2 separate regions of the Homo sapiens genome follow, and region 2 is linked to region 1. Evidence: promoter capture Hi-C in 16 types of primary human blood cells and fetal thymus (Javierre and others, 2016). All regions are on one chromosome and are shown on one strand. Each heading gives the region's core, a stretch centred on a gene start or on the middle of the fragment in contact. The rest is flanking DNA. Distances are from core to core; before and after follow the strand shown. Region 1 holds the start of HOXD9 (homeobox D9). Region 2 overlaps AGPS (alkylglycerone phosphate synthase).

Region 1 (6,864 bases), core at 470-2,969:
AGCAGTTTTACAAAACACATCCTTTCCATTTCTTCCTTTTAAATGTTTCCCTAAGAACGATCCATTTAGGTGCTATAAGTCCTCAGCCAGGGAGTCTCTGGGACACTGGCATTCAAAATTTTAAACTTCCGCCCCAAAACCAGGAACATTCCAAGACAGAACTCTTTTAGGGGGCCATTTCCTGGGGGTGGGGGAGAGGGCTTGGAATCAATGCTAGATTGAAAACGTTGTAATAGCTTTGCCCCAGACTTAACACCGGTTGGGCAGGAGGAGGGTAATTTTTATTTAGCCGTTTCTCCGATCATGTGGGGAATACCATTAGCTGTTGATAGCGGGCCATGTATCCGAGGAAAGCCTGAGCTACAAGGCAAAGGCATCCCATCTGGAACAAAATCAGAAAGCTATTGGCAAAGGTAATCAATCAGGCCATAAATAGCCATTTACCCGCTTCCTTTTCGGGGCTGGAGGTGGGCCGGGAGCCCTCCAAGGGTGAGCTGGGCAACTTGTAGAGCAAGGAATATGCCCTCCGCTGCCGGCGCCCCGGCCGCTTTTGTCTGGGCTCCCAGCCGGGCTTCCGAGGCTTTGTACCATGGATTTGGGAGTGACAATGGGCATTTCCCTCAGATTCAAGGCTGCTCAACCTCACCTCTGTAGGGGGAAAAAAATCAGAAGGGAGTGTCCCAAGGACCTAGCCATTCGGCCGAATTTTTTAGACATTTTGGGAGTCTCCTCCGAGGCCTTTAAGTGCGAACCGCGCGAAGCGGCCCTGCCCGGGGAGACTCGCTGAGGCAGGGCTGAGGCGGCGGGCGGGAGCAAGCTGCTCTAGCATTTGGGTTCTGCCCTGTGGCGTGTTCTCTTCCAGGGCCTTTCCAGCATCATCGGAGAAGACGAAGCACCCTGGCCGCCACTGTCCGTGCTGCGCCAACTCGCCCGGCCGCCCGCCCTTCCGAGGGCAGGCAGAAGCCCCTCTGTGTCCTCCACCGCCGCGCCCCGGCTCGCCCCTCGGGCCGCGGCGTGTGCCCAGCCTCACGTCGGGGTGTGTGTGGCCGCGCGGGCGTGTGTGAGTGTGGCAGGGGGAGGGGGCCCTCCGATCTGCTCCATCCGTCCGTTTTATTAGGGACACATTAATCTATAATCAAATACACCTCATAAAATTTTTATTGAAAGGCATAATATCATTACAGAGGTCTTCCACCTGTTTTAAACAACACGACAAGCTGTGAGCAAGCGTGTGTGTGGGGATGTGTGGGGAGGGGTGGGTGTGAGTAGGGAGAGAGGCGAGGGGAGAACAGCTCCCCTCGGGCGCTAGGGGCCGCCCCGAGGGCCCGCCTGCCTCGGGCGACACCGGCCTGGCGCCCCCGCGGCCGCTCCGTGTGCCCTGGACTCGCCGCCCGCGGCTCGGAAGCTGGAGAGTCAGCGACGGGGCCCGACTGCGGGACCGAGGGCTGCAAGAAGAAGCGAACAAATAGTCCCCAGCGCCTCCTCTGGATGCGGTCGCGTCTGTGGTCCTGGCAGCCGCTGGGCGGGCCAGGCCAGGTCGGGCCGGGCCGAGCCGGGCACATGGACCTGGGCCTGCGGGCTCTAATTGCGGCGCTTATGTTGATGATTTTTTTTTTAATCACAGCAGCCCCCAGTTTAGCGGACTGATTTACTCCCGGTATTGGTAAATATGATCACGTGGGCCGCGCGACCAATGGTGGAGGCTGCAGCCTGCGAACTAGTCGGTGGCTCGGGCGCCGGCGGGGAGCTGCTCGGCGGCGGACAGTGTAATGTTGGGTGGGAGTGCGGGACGCCTCAAAATGTCTTCCAGTGGCACCCTCAGCAACTACTACGTGGACTCGCTTATAGGCCATGAGGGCGACGAGGTGTTCGCGGCGCGCTTCGGGCCGCCGGGGCCAGGCGCGCAGGGCCGGCCTGCAGGTGTGGCTGATGGCCCGGCCGCCACCGCCGCCGAGTTCGCCTCGTGTAGTTTTGCCCCCAGATCGGCCGTGTTCTCTGCCTCGTGGTCCGCGGTGCCCTCCCAGCCCCCGGCAGCGGCGGCGATGAGCGGCCTCTACCACCCGTACGTTCCCCCGCCGCCCCTGGCCGCCTCTGCCTCCGAGCCCGGCCGCTACGTGCGCTCCTGGATGGAGCCGCTGCCCGGCTTCCCGGGCGGTGCGGGCGGTGGCGGTGGTGGTGGAGGCGGCGGTCCGGGCCGCGGTCCCAGCCCTGGCCCCAGCGGCCCAGCCAACGGGCGCCACTACGGGATTAAGCCTGAAACCCGAGCGGCCCCGGCCCCCGCCACGGCCGCCTCCACCACCTCCTCCTCCTCCACTTCCTTATCCTCCTCCTCCAAACGGACTGAGTGCTCCGTGGCCCGGGAGTCCCAGGGGAGCAGCGGCCCCGAGTTCTCGTGCAACTCGTTCCTGCAGGAGAAGGCGGCAGCGGCGACGGGGGGAACCGGGCCTGGGGCAGGGATCGGGGCCGCGACTGGGACGGGCGGCTCGTCGGAGCCCTCAGCTTGCAGCGACCACCCGATCCCAGGCTGTTCGCTGAAGGAGGAGGAGAAGCAGCATTCGCAGCCGCAGCAGCAGCAACTTGACCCAAGTAAGTGCAAAAGAAATTGCCCCCTGATTTATTGCTGAAACCTGTAAGGCTCGAATGTGCAAAACTGATAGTTTTACTAACCTATAAAAACGTCTAGACGCCTACCCAAGCCTAGGCGAACAACATGCATCCATAAAAAGAGCTTCCCATAACCACCTACCCTGGGCGCTCAGTTAGTACGGTAAACAGAGCGCGAGCATTAAGGCTTTTTATGATAATTCCCCACAAGTTGTGAAAAGCGACCATCCTTGGTGAAATTAATTTAACGACCTCTCTTCCCCACCCTGTGGTCTCTCCCTGCCTCCCCTCCTCTCCTCTCTCCCCGTCTCCAAACCTCCCTCTTTGTAGACAACCCCGCCGCGAACTGGATCCACGCTCGCTCCACCCGGAAAAAGCGCTGTCCCTACACCAAATACCAGACGCTTGAGCTGGAGAAAGAATTCCTCTTCAACATGTACCTCACCCGGGACCGGCGCTACGAGGTGGCCAGGATTCTCAACCTAACAGAGAGACAGGTCAAAATCTGGTTTCAGAACCGTAGGATGAAAATGAAAAAGATGAGCAAGGAGAAATGCCCCAAAGGAGACTGACCCGGCGCGGTGCTGGCGGGAGCGCTCAAGGGCAGCGGATTTGTTGTTGTTGCTGTTTTCCTTTGTGGGTGTTTGGTGCTTGATTTCCAGAAACTCTCCAGCGACTTGGACTTCTTCTTCTTTTTTTTTTTCTTTTTAGATAGAAGTGACTGTGTGGTTGGTCTCTGAGGTATTTGGGGGACTCTGTATTTGCTCGTTTACGTGTTGGAAAAACCAAGTGGCTTTGGGGTTTCGCCCTATCCCACTCCCTCTCTTTCCTGCTCCATTGGTTCCTTAAGAAATGCTATATTTTGTGAGTGCAAGCTGGCTTGGGGAGCCCTCTCTTGTGTAAATGTCCCCCATGTTTCTGAAAAGTGCTGTAGTTTAGTCCCCTCACCCCCAGCACTGCCCAAACAGGGGCCAAGTGCGCCCCAATTCCAAGAATGAAGGCAGAGCGACAACAGTGCGGACACCCCGGCTGCTAGCCCACGGTGAAGCCCGGCGGGGTTGCCCACCAGTTGCGAAAGCCCCCTTTCCTCAGGGAGCACGCGGGACCTCGGTGGAGATCTCCAGTGAGGCTTAGAGGAGCCCAGGGCCTCGGGCGGGTTGGGGTTTGTCCTCAGTGCATTGGACGCGCTGCTCTCTCCCCTGAAGGCTGGGCTCGCGTGGGCGGCCGCGGGTGGTGGCCCTCCCGGTTCCTGCCCGAGGACCAGTTGTAAATGTTACTGCTTCCTACTAATAAATGCTGACCTGATCAAATGGAGCCCAGACGCTGGCCCTAAACATTGTGTGCCTGCTTTCTCTGCCTCTCTGCAAAATATCACACTCAGGATATTTCTCCTCTACCCCTGGGAGTGAGACATTGTTAAAAATTCAGGGCCCTTCCACCTGACAGATCTCTCTGATGTGTCTCTGCCTTCTCTGCCTCACATCCCTTTGTGTAGGCAGATGCAGCAGCACAGACCCTGTGGGGGGACATTGGTGCCTCCCCAAGCCTGGTTCAAGGTCCTCCACGAACTCTGTGCTTGGGCCCAGTGTTAGCCTTGCAGAAGCGCCCAGAAGAGCCAGCAGGCCCCAGAAGCCAGGCACTTTCAGGCTGGGGCTTGGGTACACAGCACCCTAACCTTCCCTGGGCTCCTGAAGCCCCAGATGCCAAACCCCTCTCCAAACAAGGGAAAGGCCAACTCTACACTCTGGAGCAACTGTCCCAGCTCGGTGGGGCTAGCTGGCTCCGGGAGGTCCCAGCTGGTCAGGCTGTGAGCTTCTGCTCCTCCCCACCAAAGCCCCAAAGTGACCTTAGCGATCAAAATGGTCAAGGCTCTCCTCCCCAGCCACCTCCATTTCACCGCCCCCTTCCCCCCACCCAGCTTCTGTGTATGTTTAGCCCCCAGCTTGGCCCTCTGAGGGCTGCATTCAGGGGCTAAAATGAAGGTCATTGTAAGTGAGGGTTTGGGTGAGCACAGCATTTGCAGGCCAAAGAGGCAGCACTGCCAAGTGGCCTGAGCTGGGTGGAAGGTGGGGGCGGTGGCAGAGATCTTGGGGGATCCCAATGAAAGAGGGGACGCGAAGAAAAAGCATAGGGGGGCTGGGAGGGAAAGCCAAGGAAGGCCCAGATCCGGCAGAAGGTGCTGCGCACCCCTGCCACTGTGGCCAGCTGGGTACCTAGGGCTCTTTGAAAACAGGAAGAGCCGAGGTGTCATAAAGCCATCTAGCGGGCCAGACGTCTGGAGGTAATGAGTTTACGACAGGCCCAGTGCTTTGCTTTGAAACCATCTCATTTTGATGTTTGTGTTTGTGGGAGAAAAGGAAAAATGCAGACAAAACTGGGTCTTAAAATCTAGACAATAAAATATAAACAAGACTGCGTTGGACCAAGAAGGCAGGGGCATGGGAGCCCCCAGGTGAGGTGTGAGCACCTAGGAAGTAAACATGAAAGAGGTAGGAAGGAAGAGGTGAATGAATTTCTGATTTTTGAAATGAACCAGGTAATGGAAGTAGCCTAAGGAGATGGCATTTTACAATATTTTGACTATGACCACGGTTTAGCTGGTTCTTTAGAAACAAACAAACAAAAAAATTGGCCTGTTATCTGGGGATAGGGTGGTTAGTGATCTTAGGTCATTTACCCAGGTGAGAGTCTCCCAGAAGTGTGGTTCGCGGGAAAAGATGAAGTTAGATGCCTATTCACAAGAATCTCTGGCCCTCCACTCCAAACTTTGAAGCAAAATGTTGTTGAAATTTATGTCTATTCACTTATAAAAAAATACAATTGTTACACCTAAACTGGAGGAAAGCAGTTTTGAAGATGAGTAAAAAGATTAACCTAACAGGAAACACTTAAGCCAATTGAATAGTCATTGCTTTTAAAAAAAATTCTAGTGGAATGCTTAGTTCAATGACTTTTGATATATATTTTTAAAATCCCATTTATTGTCCATAGAAATTCCAACAAACAGAAGCGCAAAGGGACTTTCCAGACAGCCACTCAGAGATCCAGCAAAAAGCTTTTGATTTGGCTTCGATTCCCCCCAAAATCGGCCACCTAAGTGGGCCCCAAAGCATTAAAGTTACAGTGTTAAAGTAGCAAATATTCATGATTTAATCCTAAAAGTAACAGCTGTAAGAGAAAAACAAAAACATAACAATACTTGATTTCTGTAATTTCTTGGTTGCCAAAGTGTCTGGTTCCTCTGGAAAATAAAAAGCCTCTTGGCAGTTGATATTTAGAAAGTTGTAGGTTTTGTTAAATCTAGCCTGTCCTATAATTGTTTTAAAAGGCACAGCTGGGCGGTTACAGCATGGGGACTTTTGGTGTCTGGCAAAAGAAGGGCTGGAAGCTTTTGGAAAAGACACTACTGGAAGCTGTTGGGAGCACTGATTAGAATATCCTAGGCATACAGGAGCTCCTGCTTGCTGCTCTTGACTTGTTGACAGTCACAGGAATGAAGCATTATTAGTGTCAGCAGTCCAAGCCCCAAATTGAAGAACGAGATTAGAATTGGTTTGAGATGAATAAAAATTAAATTCAGTGGACTGGAGGTGGCATTTGGCCACTAGAGAGCGCTGTTGCTCCACTTTCTGATCTCGTAAAGCTGGAATTGCGGCGGAGAAAGGTTTTGATTAAAAATATTAACAATCTTATTTTTAATCCGAAATTAGGATAATTTTAACCAAAAATAAACAAGGTGTACTATTAATTTCTGTGTTTGCTGGGCATAAAATTTTGGCTCGATCATGGCTTCAGAAACTTTGGACTGTGGCACAGCTGAAACTATAAAACATGATAAATTAATGTATTATATCAAAACAGAAAGCTGTAAAAAGCATAGATCTTTTCTTACTAAGTTAATCGCGCTCTTTTTCTACTCATATTATAAACGGAATGCTTAAATAAATGTTAAAAACTGTTTTGTCCCAAGAGGAAATGTTGTAACGTTTTCTAAATTTGGCCTGAATGTCTATAAATGAATTTTCTAGTGTTCATTTTTCTTTTATTCCCCCGAGGAATCACACAGTTCTACAAGATGCCTGGTATTGTTGAGATCCAGGCTCTTTCATTTTCCCCCCCCCCATTCCATTCCAAAATCCACTCATTTATCCAGGGTTCAAACACACACACACACACACACACACACACACACACACGCCAAACTGAAAAAAAGGGGCACAATTACAAAGGTAGCTCCAAGGCTTTATTGACAATAATAAT
Region 2 (6,572 bases), core at 1,045-3,544, 1.3 Mb after region 1:
GAAGGAAAGGTGGGGTGCACGCATGGGTGACTGTTGAGTAGAGACTTCTGGCTGTACCATGATGTCAACCGGCTAATGCTGGGAGTTCGGGACGACAGCTTTCTGCCTCTAGTTGGCCCTTGGCTTCCCCAGGAAAATTGAAAGCGCAAGCTGGTTCCAGGCAGATCAATGCTCCCAACCCAGAAGGTTTGGGGGTTGTTAGAAAGCCTTTTCCCAGATAGCCTCACATCTGAGTCTTAAGTCTGGCAGCCACGCTAATCGTTTTTTTAACTGGCCGACAAGCACCCTGTATTTTCCTCTGATTCTAAGGAAGGATAGCAAGCGAAAGTAGTCCAATATTACTCACCGCTTTGGAGAGTCCCTTCGTGGTTGCCAAAATGTTACCAGGGTGTCCTTGCTCCTAGAGCTCCCAAGATGTTGGCGGCCACTTCCAAGATGGCAGCAAGCCTCTTGTTCTCTGACCTGGGGTTCTTGGCCTCACGGATTCCAAGGAATGGAATCTTGGGCCATGTGGTGAGTGTTATAGCTCTATTAGAAGCCATGGGTCATGGAACAGAACCGTGGAACCCAGCGACTAGTGTTCAGCTTGATTAGGATGAACTTGGGCACTTAGCTGTGCAGGAACAATGGCAAGCCTTTAGCCCGATCGGGAGTGGCAATGGGTGCCTCGCTGGATCAGGAGCACAGTGGACACCCTGCTGGATCTGGAGGGGTGGAAGTCAGCATCAGCGGCGGGTCTGCGATGGCGGCAAACAACAGTGGTGGATGGCAAGTGAAAGCACAGCTGGAGCCATAACAAACACAGACCAGAAGAGTATGCAGTTGCAAGATTTAATAGAGTGAAAACGGAGCTCCCATACAATGGGAGGGAACCCAAAGGGGGTTGCCCAACAATTACGGTTTACAACAAGAATACTGTGTACATTAAGCCGGTATGGATTTCAGTCTTGGTATTTTTAGGGTCATGCCAAGGGTATTGTTGGTCTGTCCCCAAAGGACAGCAGGGGAAGGGAACTTAGGCTTGGTTTCAATGCTAAAATGGCATATAGATTTTTGGAGACATTTGTATTTTCTTTGTCTGTGTTCAGTTTTGTAGTTTCTACAGAAATGCAAGGCTCTACCAGAAATGGCTTTGGTCACTTATGGATTGGTCAGTATAATAAGCTTGTGATACAATTCCTTTTTTAATTACTAACAAGCATGGAGTGAGCAATGAAAGTGAATTGGCATTTTCCCAGTTGGTGGTAGAGACAGTCTGGGGTTGGTTGCCAAAATTGCCATATTGGGTAGATTACAAGTGGACAATGAAGGGAAAAACCATGAAATTTAAAGTACAGTCCAGGGAACACAAGAGTCCAAGTGAAGGATATATCCTTTTCTCTTTGTCCTTTGCTATGACAACCTCCTGATGCAGATTTGGATTGTTTTCCTCATTACGTAGATCAACACCTGAGGGTAAAGGGTAGGATGGTTGTTTCTTTCCAGGCTTCCAGAATGGCAGGTACCAAGCTTGTGTGAGTGGATATGTGGGTACACACCTGCCCTTACCACAAAATATTTGTAACATACACTACTAAATGTATGAATGACTAATAGTGTGTATTTCCATTTTCAAATGCGTCATTCAAACAGTAACAAGTTTCTAATTGGTAGATTATGGTGTAGTGTGTGAGAGAAGTGTGGGAGTAAAGAATGGCACCCCAAGAACCTGAAGTGATTAGTGACTGCCCAGAGTATTCTGTCAATGTGAGGTAAAGCTGGTCTTGCCTTATTTGCCCTTCTTGCCCCCCGCCCCTTTCCTGTGCCTCTGTTTAGAATTTTTCCCCTTTATACCTGTATATTACTTTTTCTTTCACTCATTTATTCATGATAAATGTAGTAGGAATTGGACCTTTGGGACGCAGTTTTTGAGCCTTGAATTCAAGTTTTAAAAGGTTTCTTTCTTTTCTTTTTTTTGAGACAGGACCTCACTCTGTCACCCAGGCTGGAGTGCAGTGGCAATCATGGCTCACTGCAACCTTGAACTCTTGAGCTCAAGGGATCCTTCTGCCTTGGCCTTGTAGTAGCTGGGATTACAGGCTTGCACCACCACACCTGGCTTTTATTTTATTTTATTTTTGAGAATTAGGGGTCCCGCTGTATTGCTCAGGCTTATTTTGAACTTCAAGGCTCAAGTTATCCTCCCACCTTGGCCTCCCAAAGTGGTGGGATTACAGGTCATTGTGCTTGGCCTTAAAAAGTTTTTTAGAGTGCTAGTTTCTTGTGGACTATAAAAAGTTGACTGTAGGTAGTTAAATGTATATTTGGTTTACCATATAGTTGAAGCTGTTTAATTCATAATGGAATTCTATCATTCAAAAAAATTTGTAGCTATTGCTAAGAAGCCCAATAGATTTTATAATAAACCATCATGAAAGTTCTGTGTATATATGGAAGAAAGAATTATTTTCTCAGAACAGAGAGAAACTGCACTGAGATTCAAAGGCTGAGCAGCGTATTTGCCTCAGGTTCAGAGAGTTGTGGTAACATACATTTTTAATGTATGGTATTTGTGTGAGGCCTCTAATTTTCCTCCATCTCTGATTACTAATTTCATCTGCCTATCCCATGGGTGCCTATGAAGGTTCGTGTGTGTGTGTGTGTGTGTGTGTATAATGTATATAATATACATATATGATGAATGCATTATAAATAATATATCTGGATATATTATATATAATATTTTGTGTTTTGTGAAATATGCAGTGTTATTTAGTGTGTATATTTTTAATTCCCTTAAATGCTGTTTTACTATGGATTTTATTGTTTCTCCTTTGTGTTTACCACTGTTTTAAACATTTCATCGTGTTTCTATATGCATATCTATTCAACTTACTGCTTTTGATTGCTGCATTAATATTTCATGGAATGCATTTTCCACATTACTTACCTGCTTCTCTAGTGATGCCTCCAGCTACTCTTACAAACAATGCTCCAGGGAATATATCAAATGTGTTCCCTTATGGAATTGTATATGAATTTCCTATGCAATATATACCCAGGAGTTGTATAGTTGGGTCATAGAATTGGCATTACCTATGAAAGCTTACTACATGATTGCTCTGTGGAGTGGCTTACCAGTATGCATGTGGATTCCTTTTCTTCATGTTCTTGTTAACAACTTTCTGTGTTCTCAAATCTCATATTTAAGCCACTTTGCATTATCACACTGCTAAGAATTATCACATTGATTAATAACTTATTATATCACAGGGTCACATTTTTATTCTGGCAACTAGAGCTGAGAAACTTACAATGGGGATATTGAGGGAAGATTGAAATTCTTGTTGAAGTTTAAAGTGTTGCATGATAATGTTCAAGAAGGCTCACTGTCTAGAGGACACAGATTATACCTTGTTGACCCATCTAGAAACATGATCTTATCAGAGTCCTCAAGTTGATTACATTTAGATAGTCTGACTGCCCTCACCAGTTACCAAAGTTAATTAACAAGCCAATAAACTAATTCATGATGAAAAGTAAAACTGTAGATCCTTTTGGCCATTTCAGTTGTCCTTTTTTTTTTCTCTCTAGGAAATCACAATATTATCAGATGAAGGTAGCTTTGTGAGTTTTATATCAGGGCAAGAGGAAATATTGATCTGAAGAGTGAAGCATCTTTTATTAGAATTTTGATTATTGGAATTTTATCAGAAAAACTTTTATAAAAGTTATTAGATAGCTGAACTTTTACAGTTGTTAACCCAGAATGAAAGTAGCCAAAATCATTTTTTCCTTTTCCTTATTTTCTAGTGAAAAATATTATGACTATTATGATTAGAAATAGCAATGTAGAAACCATGCATATATATCAGGATGTTTGCAGTTTATTACTAGTAGAGGAATAGTAGTGTGACAACCAGTCTGTAAACAGAGACTTCAAAGTGAAAATTTCCCATTTTAAGAATAAAGAAACTCTTTATGGTTTTTATAATAGTAAGGCTAAATCTAAATATTTCACCTAAAGATTGTATAATAACAGCCCTGAAAAATGCAAAATGCTGAATATGTACATCATGTACATATCATGGGAGAATACTGCCACCTTGTGCATATAGGATGCTATTTTATGCCTCCATTTTCTTTTGTTACACCAGCTAATACTTGCTTTTTCAGTTTGGTACTGTGGTTAGATGTGTAAATGTGTAAAACATTTATTTTTTTATGCAGTAAAATCAAGCCAACTATTCTTTCGGCAGGAGGAGGGTTTTTTTTTGTTTTGTTTTGTTTTTTTGAGACGGAGTCTTGTTCTGTCACCCAGCCTGGAGTGCAGTGGTGTGATCTCGGCTCACTGCCACCTCCGCCTCCCAGGTTCAAGCGATTCTCCTGCCTCAGCCTCCTGAGCACCTGGGACTACAGGCATGCGCCACTACACCCAGCTAATTTTTTTTTTTAATTTGTAGTAGAGATGGGGTTTCACTATATTAGCCAGGATGGTCTTGATCTCCTGACCTTGTGATCTGCCCACCTTGGCCTCCCAAAGTGCTAGGATTACAGGTGTGAGCCACTGTGCCTGGCCCGGTCTTGTTTTTTGAAAGATGTTAAATTTGGTATAGTTAGCTCTAAGAATTGGAATGTCTGAGATCATACTGGTTAATTGACCTCTGGGGTTAGTTGAGAATTGGATTCTTTTATTTGAATCTTATGGAAAGTTGATGATTCTTTAATCATTCTTCATTTTAGTGCTTGCAGTACTTTGGGGTTATTCTGAATGGCAGAATTCATTACACTATCGGAAGTATAGGGAATTTGGCTTCTGACACAAACATATCCCTTGATTTTTAAATGTTTTCCTTCAGCTGAAGTGCAGAAGAATTACTACAACACAGGGTGAGCATCCTTAATTTGAAAATCTAAAATCCACAATGTTCCAACATTGGAAACTTTTTGAACACTGTCATGAGATAGTGATTCCTTTGCTTCCTGATAGTTCAGTGTATGCAAACTCTGTTTCATGCACAAAACCATTAAAAATATTGTATAAAATTACCTTCAGGCTATGTGATAAGATGTATATGAAACATAAATAAATTTTATGTTTAGACTTGGGTCCCATCCCCAAGAAATCTCATTGTGTATATGTAAATATTCCAGAATCTGAAAAATATCTGAAATCTGAAACACTTCTGGTCCCAAGCATTTTGGATAAAGGATACTCAATCTATAGTAACATGTAATAGTTTCTTGAAACAGTATTGATGTAAATCAAAAAATGAGTTCTTTCAAATATTCTGGTTATCTGACAGCCTGACTTAGATGGGTTTCAGATATTATTGCCTCTCTGAAGAGGAAGAATTATGAGACTGGAAGTCAGCCTTTGGATACTCACAACTAACTTAGCTGCGTGACCAGGGATGCTTCTCTGGGCAGTTTCTTTATCTGAAAAATGAGCAATTGAACTGGATGGGTTCTGAGGATCTTTTTAGTTTTCAAATTCTGTGACTATATAAAGTTTTACTCTAATTTTAAAATGTTATGCTGTAATACCGTTCAAAATACTTCTATGTATAAGAAGTTATTAAAAAATTTAATCATATAGTTATATTTAACTATCAGAGTATATACTAGTAATTTGGTGGGGATGGGGTTAGAATATGTGTACATAAAAGTTTAAAACTAGAAGCCTGGGAAATTTACCTGTTTTTTATTTAACACCTGGGGTACTTGAAGATATCAGAAGATTGGTTTGGGGGTAATCTAGATTTTAATTGTATATGATTTATGCATAATCCTGTTTTGGGTATAAATGCATTCCAAATGCCTACATTCAACTTCTGAGAAGACTCCAAAAGTTGATATAAATATGGTAAAGTCCATTTCATAAGCCCAATTTTATGACTGGGATGAAAAGAGAGAAAAAGGTACCTACAGTTGAAAATTTGGAAGTTCTTTAGAATATTACCCAACTTGAAAATTTAAGGCCAAAGACTCTTCAGGATGTAAATCCCTTCATTTTATAGTGTATAACAGCAGATCTTTCCTGCTATCTTGATTCATTTCCTCATGAAGTGCTAAGAATGAACCCATGTGACCAAGTTTAGCTTTTTACTTTGGGGCCATCTGGGGATAAGTTTTTAAATTCTAGGGATAATTTTAAGGAAAATGATTTTCGTTGTTAAGCTACATAAACATGCCAGATTCAACCTCTGTACTGAAATGATTTCCTTGTGCCTTGCCTTGAGATTTTTGCATTTATTTTGTGTAATACCAAATTACTATTTTGTAGAGAACAGAATTATAATAAATGTTGAAATTCACTAATAAAATGCAATCACATAAAATCTATGCATATTATAAGCCATTAAAGATGTTAATGTATTAAAATATACATTTATCCTTCTGATTATTGAAATATAAGAAAATACTAAGTAAATTATACTTCATAAAAGTGAAGATAATTTAATCATGAAAAAAAGCAAAGTGGAAAATATCCTAATCTGTTTTTAGAATGTGAAAATCTTATGGTTCAATCCCAAGTTTTGGCACCAAAAAAAAAAAAAGTAAAATCTTAAGAAAATGTGTGTGTCACTGGT

Evidence for each region. Contacts are between HindIII fragments. The CHiCAGO score rates a contact against its expected background, and 5 or more counts as called.
Region 2: a contact is called between a fragment that was not itself captured here and the fragment with the promoter of HOXD9 in region 1, in 1 of 17 cell types (activated CD4 T cells). The highest score is 5.1, in activated CD4 T cells.

Annotation. Positions count from the first base shown.
Region 1 is chr2:176,121,000-176,127,863 of GRCh38, forward strand. It overlaps HOXD9 (homeobox D9), which reads left to right and starts at 1,720. Exons shown (of 2, transcript NM_014213.4): 1 at 1,720-2,586; 2 at 2,935-3,938. The coding sequence starts at 1,770. The coding sequence ends at 3,176. LOC100129455 (a long non-coding RNA gene) reads right to left here. Exons shown (of 1, transcript NR_187615.1): 1 at 6,826-6,864. The HindIII fragment of the contact is 6,351 bases long and covers 1-5,657 here.
Region 2 is chr2:177,412,271-177,418,842 of GRCh38, forward strand. The region is part of intron 1 of AGPS (alkylglycerone phosphate synthase); the gene reads left to right. Among named protein-coding and RNA genes, the nearest start is that of AGPS, 23 kb to the left of the region's middle. The HindIII fragment of the contact is 1,575 bases long and covers 1,508-3,082 here.